Regions from separate parts of the Homo sapiens genome. Here region 1 is linked to region 2. The links are contacts of gene promoters, found by promoter capture Hi-C in blood cells and fetal thymus (Javierre and others, 2016). All regions are on one chromosome and are shown on one strand. The core of a region is centred on a gene start or on the middle of the fragment in contact, and the rest is flanking DNA. Distances in the headings are between cores, read along the strand shown. Region 1 overlaps NMBR (neuromedin B receptor). Region 2 holds the start of ADGRG6 (adhesion G protein-coupled receptor G6).

What was found. The method cuts DNA at HindIII sites, captures the fragments that hold promoters and counts their contacts. A CHiCAGO score of 5 or more calls a contact.
Region 1: a fragment that was not itself captured here is called in contact with the fragment with the promoter of ADGRG6 in region 2 in 1 of 17 cell types (monocytes); the score reaches 5.1 in monocytes.

Annotation. Positions count from the first base shown.
Region 1 is chr6:142,142,947-142,145,864 of GRCh38, reverse strand. The region is part of intron 1 of NMBR (neuromedin B receptor); the gene reads left to right. Among named protein-coding and RNA genes, the nearest start is that of NMBR, 2.7 kb to the left of the region's middle. The HindIII fragment of the contact is 4,167 bases long and covers 1-2,918 here.
Region 2 is chr6:142,300,730-142,304,089 of GRCh38, reverse strand. It overlaps ADGRG6 (adhesion G protein-coupled receptor G6), which reads right to left and starts at 2,083. Exons shown (of 25, transcript NM_198569.3): 1 at 1,759-2,083. The coding sequence starts at 1,760. RefSeq lists a silencer at 2,154-2,293. The HindIII fragment of the contact is 4,341 bases long and covers 988-3,360 here.

The sequences.
Region 1 (2,918 bases), core at 8-2,507, 160 kb after region 2:
TTCTCACTTAATTGTTCTAGGTGGGATCCTAAATGTCAGTATCTTTAAAAGGTCCTCATGTAATTTTAATGTTACGTCTAGGGTTAAGGACCAGTGCTGTAGTCCACAGATGGTGTTTCAAACTTCTCTCGCTCTATTCAAGCTAGGCACTCAGCCCCAATTTCCTTGGTCTACAACAGCATTTCCTGCTATTGAGATTAAGGCCACCACCAGATATGAATTATTTTGCCTTGCCTCTACCACAACTTAAAGTAATAATAACTAGCTAGCAGCATTTGCTGAGCATCAACTATGTATCATGCATGTTTCTAGGGTCTTTATATTAATTTATTTAATTTGCACCACAACCCTATGAGGAACATATCATTATTATTTTACAGATGAGAAAAATAAGACACATAGAATCTAGATAACTTGCACTAGGTCACAGCCAGGAAGGATGAGTATTCCACATTAAAATCTAGGTATTTTGGTTTCAGAGCCTGTGCACCTAGCCATTACTACTTGACTATGATGTCTTTCTAGATCTTATGTTTTATCTTTTCTCTATTCCATCATCTTATGTCTGAGAAACAAATGTTCCTCTTCCTGGTAGAAGGCTGCACCCTCCTGTTACTCTCCTGATCTCCCCCTTCAGAAGTGAATTTTGCCACTCTTTCTCATTTGCATACATTCATGTGTACTCTTATTTGCATACCCTCATGAGCAGGACTGAGGGAAAAATAAGAAAGTGAAATGGTTGGAGTTGGATTTTACTCTCTGATCTGCCAACACATGCTCTTTTCTTTTCTTTCTTTTCTCCTTCCTTCCTTCTTTTTTTCTTTCTTTTTTTTTTTTTTTTTTTAGACAGGTTCTCACTCTGTCACCTAAGCTGGAGTGCAGCACACTATCAGAGCTCGCTGCAGTCTTGGACTCCTGGGCTCAAGGATCTTCTTGCCTCAGCCTCCTGAGTAACTGGGACCACAGGCACATAACACTATGGCTAATTATTATTATTTTGTTGCCTAGGCAGGTCTTGAACTCTTAGTCTCAAGTGATACTCCTGCCTCGGCCTCCCAAAGTGCTGAGATTACAGACAAGAGCCTCATGCTCTCTTCTTTCTAAATATGCTAACCCTTTCATGAGATGATAATTGATTTGATGGAGAACAGTACAGAGACAGTGTTAGTGTAACACACATTGAAATTATGCTATAAAACAAATATTAATGACTGTGAGGTTGCTTTTTCTTGTTTTACTATGATATTTTACTAGAAAGACCTACATTCTTCTTCTCCATTCATCTCAGACCAGTTTCTGAAGGATCTGACATCACCCTCTAGGACTGGGCTAGAACCTTGGCAAGTAAGGGGAGGGCAGAGCTGTAGAACAAAATAGGGGGTGAGGGCAACCATAGGAAGAAGAAAATGGAGAGAAACTAGAGCTGACAGGTGTTTTGATGGGAAAAAATGTTTTACACCATACCCTACATACACACATGTATGTGTGATCATCTGACAATAAAAATATTCTGTGTCCGTTTGGTCAGAACCATCTTGTTGGCAAATGACAGGGCATCAGTCAATGTAATCAGGATAATATATATATCTATAGCTGTATCTTTTTAAGATACTGTATGTGGTAGAAATTTGGCTTCCAGTATCATGAGACTAACATCCTATTATTTTAGCATCCCCCCCAAGTAGAAATAATTTTTCCTTAAATTTTCCGCAGAAGAATGATAGGGAAGACCCTGAAAACTTGGCCAGGACCATTTGCCACCCCATCCGCCCATGGCTGGGACATGTAGACACTATAAACATTGCATTTTATGTTTTAAACACGGATATTTAATTGTTCCGGCACATTTAAAACAATAAGCTAACTATATACGAATATAATGTATTCACAAATGTGAATTGCATTAGCACATTTAAAACAATAAGCTAACTATATACGAGCAAACATATTTCCAGTCTCTTGATTGTTCCCATTCCATATGCCTATCTTCATGCCCGGTCCACATGATTTTGATTATTGTACCTTTAAAGAAGTCTTCAGAGTATGTAGTGTAAGTCCTCTGTCTGTTTTTTTTTTTTCCTTTGCTTTTGCAAAATTGTGTTGGCTATTCTACATCTCCTGTATTTCCATATAAATTTTAGAAACAGCTTGTCAATTTCTATATAAGTTTCCTAGGATTTTGACTGGAATTATATTGAATTTACAGATCAGTTTATAATGACTAAAGTTACAAATGAGTAAGACTGCCAAGCCTTACTCGACATGGTTTATTTTTCCACTTAAAATGGTGCAGTGGCTCACGCCTGTAATTCCAGCACTTTGGGAAGCCGAGGAGAGTGGATCACCTGAGGTCAGGAGTTTGTGATCAGCCTGGCCAACATGGAGAAACCCCGGCTCTACTAAAAGTACAAAATTAGCAGGGTGTGGTGGCACATGCCTGTAATCCCAGCTACTTGGGATACTGAGGCAAGAGAATCGCTTGAACCCGGGAGGCAGAGGTGGCAGTGAGCCAAGATTGTGCCACTGCACTCCAGCCTGGGCGACAGAGCGAGACTCCGTCTCAAAAAATAAAAAATAAAATTAAAATTAAAAAGTCTTTAATTATTTTCATCACTGTTTCGTAGTTTTCATTGTACAGGTCTAGCACATATTTTGAAAAATTTATCACTATGCATTTCATATTTTTTATTGCATTGTAAATGATTTTTTACATTTAAATTTTATTTTTTATTACTCTATAGAAAAATTATTCCTCATAAGTTTATTTATATATATTTTTAAAGTTAGAGTCTTGTTCCGTCCCCCAGGCTAGAGGGCAGTGGTGCAATCATAGCTCACTGCAGCCTCAAACTCCTGGGCTCAAGTCATCCTCTTACCTCAGCCTCTGGAGTAGCTGGGACTGCAGGCAGGCACCACCA
Region 2 (3,360 bases), core at 834-3,333:
ATCAGGCCATCCTAAACCACTCCATATGAATCGTAAATAGCAAAATGGAAAAAAATATACTTACCATCTGGTAAAAAATGAAAACTTTCAGTCAAAATAGCTCAAAAAAGAATCTCAAATCTAGGTATCAAGCCCTATTTTCTATGTGATTTCATATTCACGCTTTTACCCTATAATGACATGATTTTTTAATCACGAAGAATTCAAATGGACTATATAACTTAATTTCATGATCAGGAAATTTTTACATTACCTGTTGATAAGTTTAACATCTTTTATTTTAAAAACAGGTATTTATACTTTCATGTGTAATATGCTTTTTTTCTCATAAGATCTAAATGCTTAGGAAAGCTGAAAAAAACTGGGCAAATACCTGCTGTAAAATCCCTAGTATATTTTCAAGAAAAACTGAAGTTGAAAACAAGCTCATATTACTTCAAAATGTGTAGCCTGTATATGAGAACAAGTCTTATATGAAAATGCTGGCTGTATCCCAAAATAAATTTTTTCAAGTTGTACCTTGCCGATTCCACTGGCATAAATGAAACTTTAAAACTCCCAGGTGTGGAATTATTTCACATGCAGTTTCAGTAAAAATAAGTGGTTCATTTCTGATTACATCTCACAGTACCTGGAACAGAGTTACAGAGTGCTAGGCTTGTGGGCACTATCCTTTCTTTCTCCTATTTTAAAATGTGTGTTGGGGAGTGGGGAAGTAGGGAATGGAAAGTGCAGGAAAGTGTGGAAAAACAGGACCTAGGGGGCAGGTCTTTCCCCATGTACTGAACTGAAAGAGTAAATTCATGTAAGATCCAGGAGTTGGGGGAAGGAGTGTTAAGTACCAAGTTCTAGAAATTGTTGTACATGAGTTAGTGGAAGGGGATAAAATGTCTGTCACGGTGTCCGTCCAAGATTAACTAAAACATCAGAAGGAAAATTACCTATTACAAGAAAAAGAAACTTCTTAGTTGGCCACAAAAATAAGCTTGGCCCTTTGGAGTACAATCTTCCTTTTCCCATTCTGGAAAGCCAGACGGTGCTTGGCGACCCTTTCATGGGGTCGCTGTGCGCCACCTCACCATTAGGATGACAATTCTATGGAGGCAAAACCTTTTAGGTTTCTCTGTTTCAATGCCCCAATTCCCCACGCCCCCCATAAGTCTATGGAAGTCCCCTCAAATCCTATCACGTAACGTGGCGTAACCCTTAATTACTTCCTAAACTACAAAGCACACTGAAAACATTTTCTGCACACCTTAAAAAAATTCAAACACCCCAAAGATCCAAGAATAACTTCTACAGTCAATGGTGACAATGTGTAAAGTCAACATTTTCTCGGCATACTAGTACCTTCCAAGCCCCCAGGTGTTGATTCCGGAGAGCGCCTTCTTGGCAGGGCCAGGCCTCTGGACTGAGGAGCGGTGCCTGTTACTCCTTGTTTAATTTGAATTGAAAACACGTTTTCCCCATTCTTGAAGCCCTGCCCTTCTTATTAGGCTTTACACCGCCCAAATGTGAGGTTTACCTCGCTGGGGGAAAAAAAACAGCCACACACACATGTCACAACTCCACTTGGCAATAGTCCTACTCCTCAGTGCCTCGAGGGGCAAACTGAAGACAAACCGGTTTATTCCCTCCGTGCAGTTGAAGTCCTTATAAAATCATTTCTCTTGAGGGTGGGGTGGTCGGGGAGGGGGCGACAGAAGGTGGACACAGATAAAAGAGTGAAGGAATTCCAAGCTGAAAGGTGAGACTTACATGTTGACATTACTGCGCCGAGGTCCCCTTTGGCCGCAAGATCATCCTCCACCACTTTCCCGCTCTGCTGCCGCTGCTCCACCCAGGGGGAACCCAGGCGCCCCAGCCCTGCGCCGCGGCGGGACCCTCCTTTACGCCGTTTCTGGAGAGTTCATGGGCTTTCCCGACGGCGCAAGGTGAACCCTGGGCGCGGCAGCGTTCAGCGCAGGGCCTGCGGACGAGGAAGCAGGCTGGCGGCAGGTCCCTCCTCGCAGGGAAGTTGGCAGGGTGAGGGCGAGAAGCTGAGGAAGTAGGGTGTGCGTGGGGCTGGTGCTGAGGAGACCGGGCCAGGCAGGGGTGCGCGTCGCAGGTCCTCGCCCCCGCTGGCGGGAGGCGGGACTCGGCCACCACCCTAGGTACTTGGGTCCCCCTCGCGGGCGCAGGCGACTCTCCCCGGACCCGTGCGCTCCGCCCGCGCTTCCGGCGTGACTGGAGCTGGGCTCAGGTGCGGCGGCCCCGGCGGCGTGCGGCGTATGACCCGACTCCGGCTGCCCTGGTCTGGGCGCTCCGCGGCTGGGGCTGTCCCGAAGGCGCAGCTGCCCCACACAGGATCTTCAACCCCAGGGCCGAAAGGGAGAAGTCGCCCCGCGGGGCGGGACAGGCGCTTTTGGAGCGAGCAGCGAAGGGAGAGTGGCCGGGGTCGGCGATGGGCGCAGAGCCGGGCTCAGCTCCCCAGCTGGGAGGGGACAGGGCGGACCCGGAGGTCGCCGAAACGCCGGGAGCGCTGAACCCCAGAGACCCTCGGCGAGAGAAAGGAGAAGCTGGGAAGGCAGGCGCTCCTGTGGCATCTCCCCAGCGTTTGCAGCCTACCCGAGTCCCCGCGCGGGTCCCCCCGCCACGCTCCCGGGCTGTTGCTTTGCTTCACTTTTCTGCCACTTTCTTTACTTAACTTTTCTGTCTTCTCTGACTAGTTCGCTTGCTCGAAAAAATGAAGGGATTTTAACGGGGGGCTGGGAAGATGGTCACATAACATTTTATTGAGAGGGATTGATTTGCCAACGTAAATCCAGCTGCTTGTTGGGGAAAGTTAGCTGCCTGCTCTCCAATGCTCCTGTAAAGTAGCTGTCTGGCAAAGGGATCTGGACACACCTCCTTGGGAATGAGAAGAGAGAAGGGCTCACACTTGGAAAGAGGTTTTCTTCCCATTGTGTACTGCCAGAGTTAGTCCACAAAATGCTAGAGGCAAACCTTCCGGTGCCAGGGCTGTATGCACATCCAGAACCTCAACAGCTCAGCTTGCACGGTGTACACACTGGCACATGCACAGGCCATACACAGAAGTGCCCTAACAATTATTTCAAGCTGATTAGCTTATGATAGAGAGCTGTTGGTGGGTGCGGGGGGTGGGAAGGAGGTAAAGCAGGACTTACTCACAGTTACAGGCAGAAAGGAAGCTGGAACGCTGCCACCAATTCCAGAGGCCTGAACATCTAGGGTGTGTTCTACTTGTCATTTTTATCAGTATTCATTTTGATGAATAAACGGTATGATTAATAGAGACGCTGAGTTGTAGCATTTAAGGGAAGCTAAAGTTCTTCTGCCCAACTGTCTCACGTTAACAGG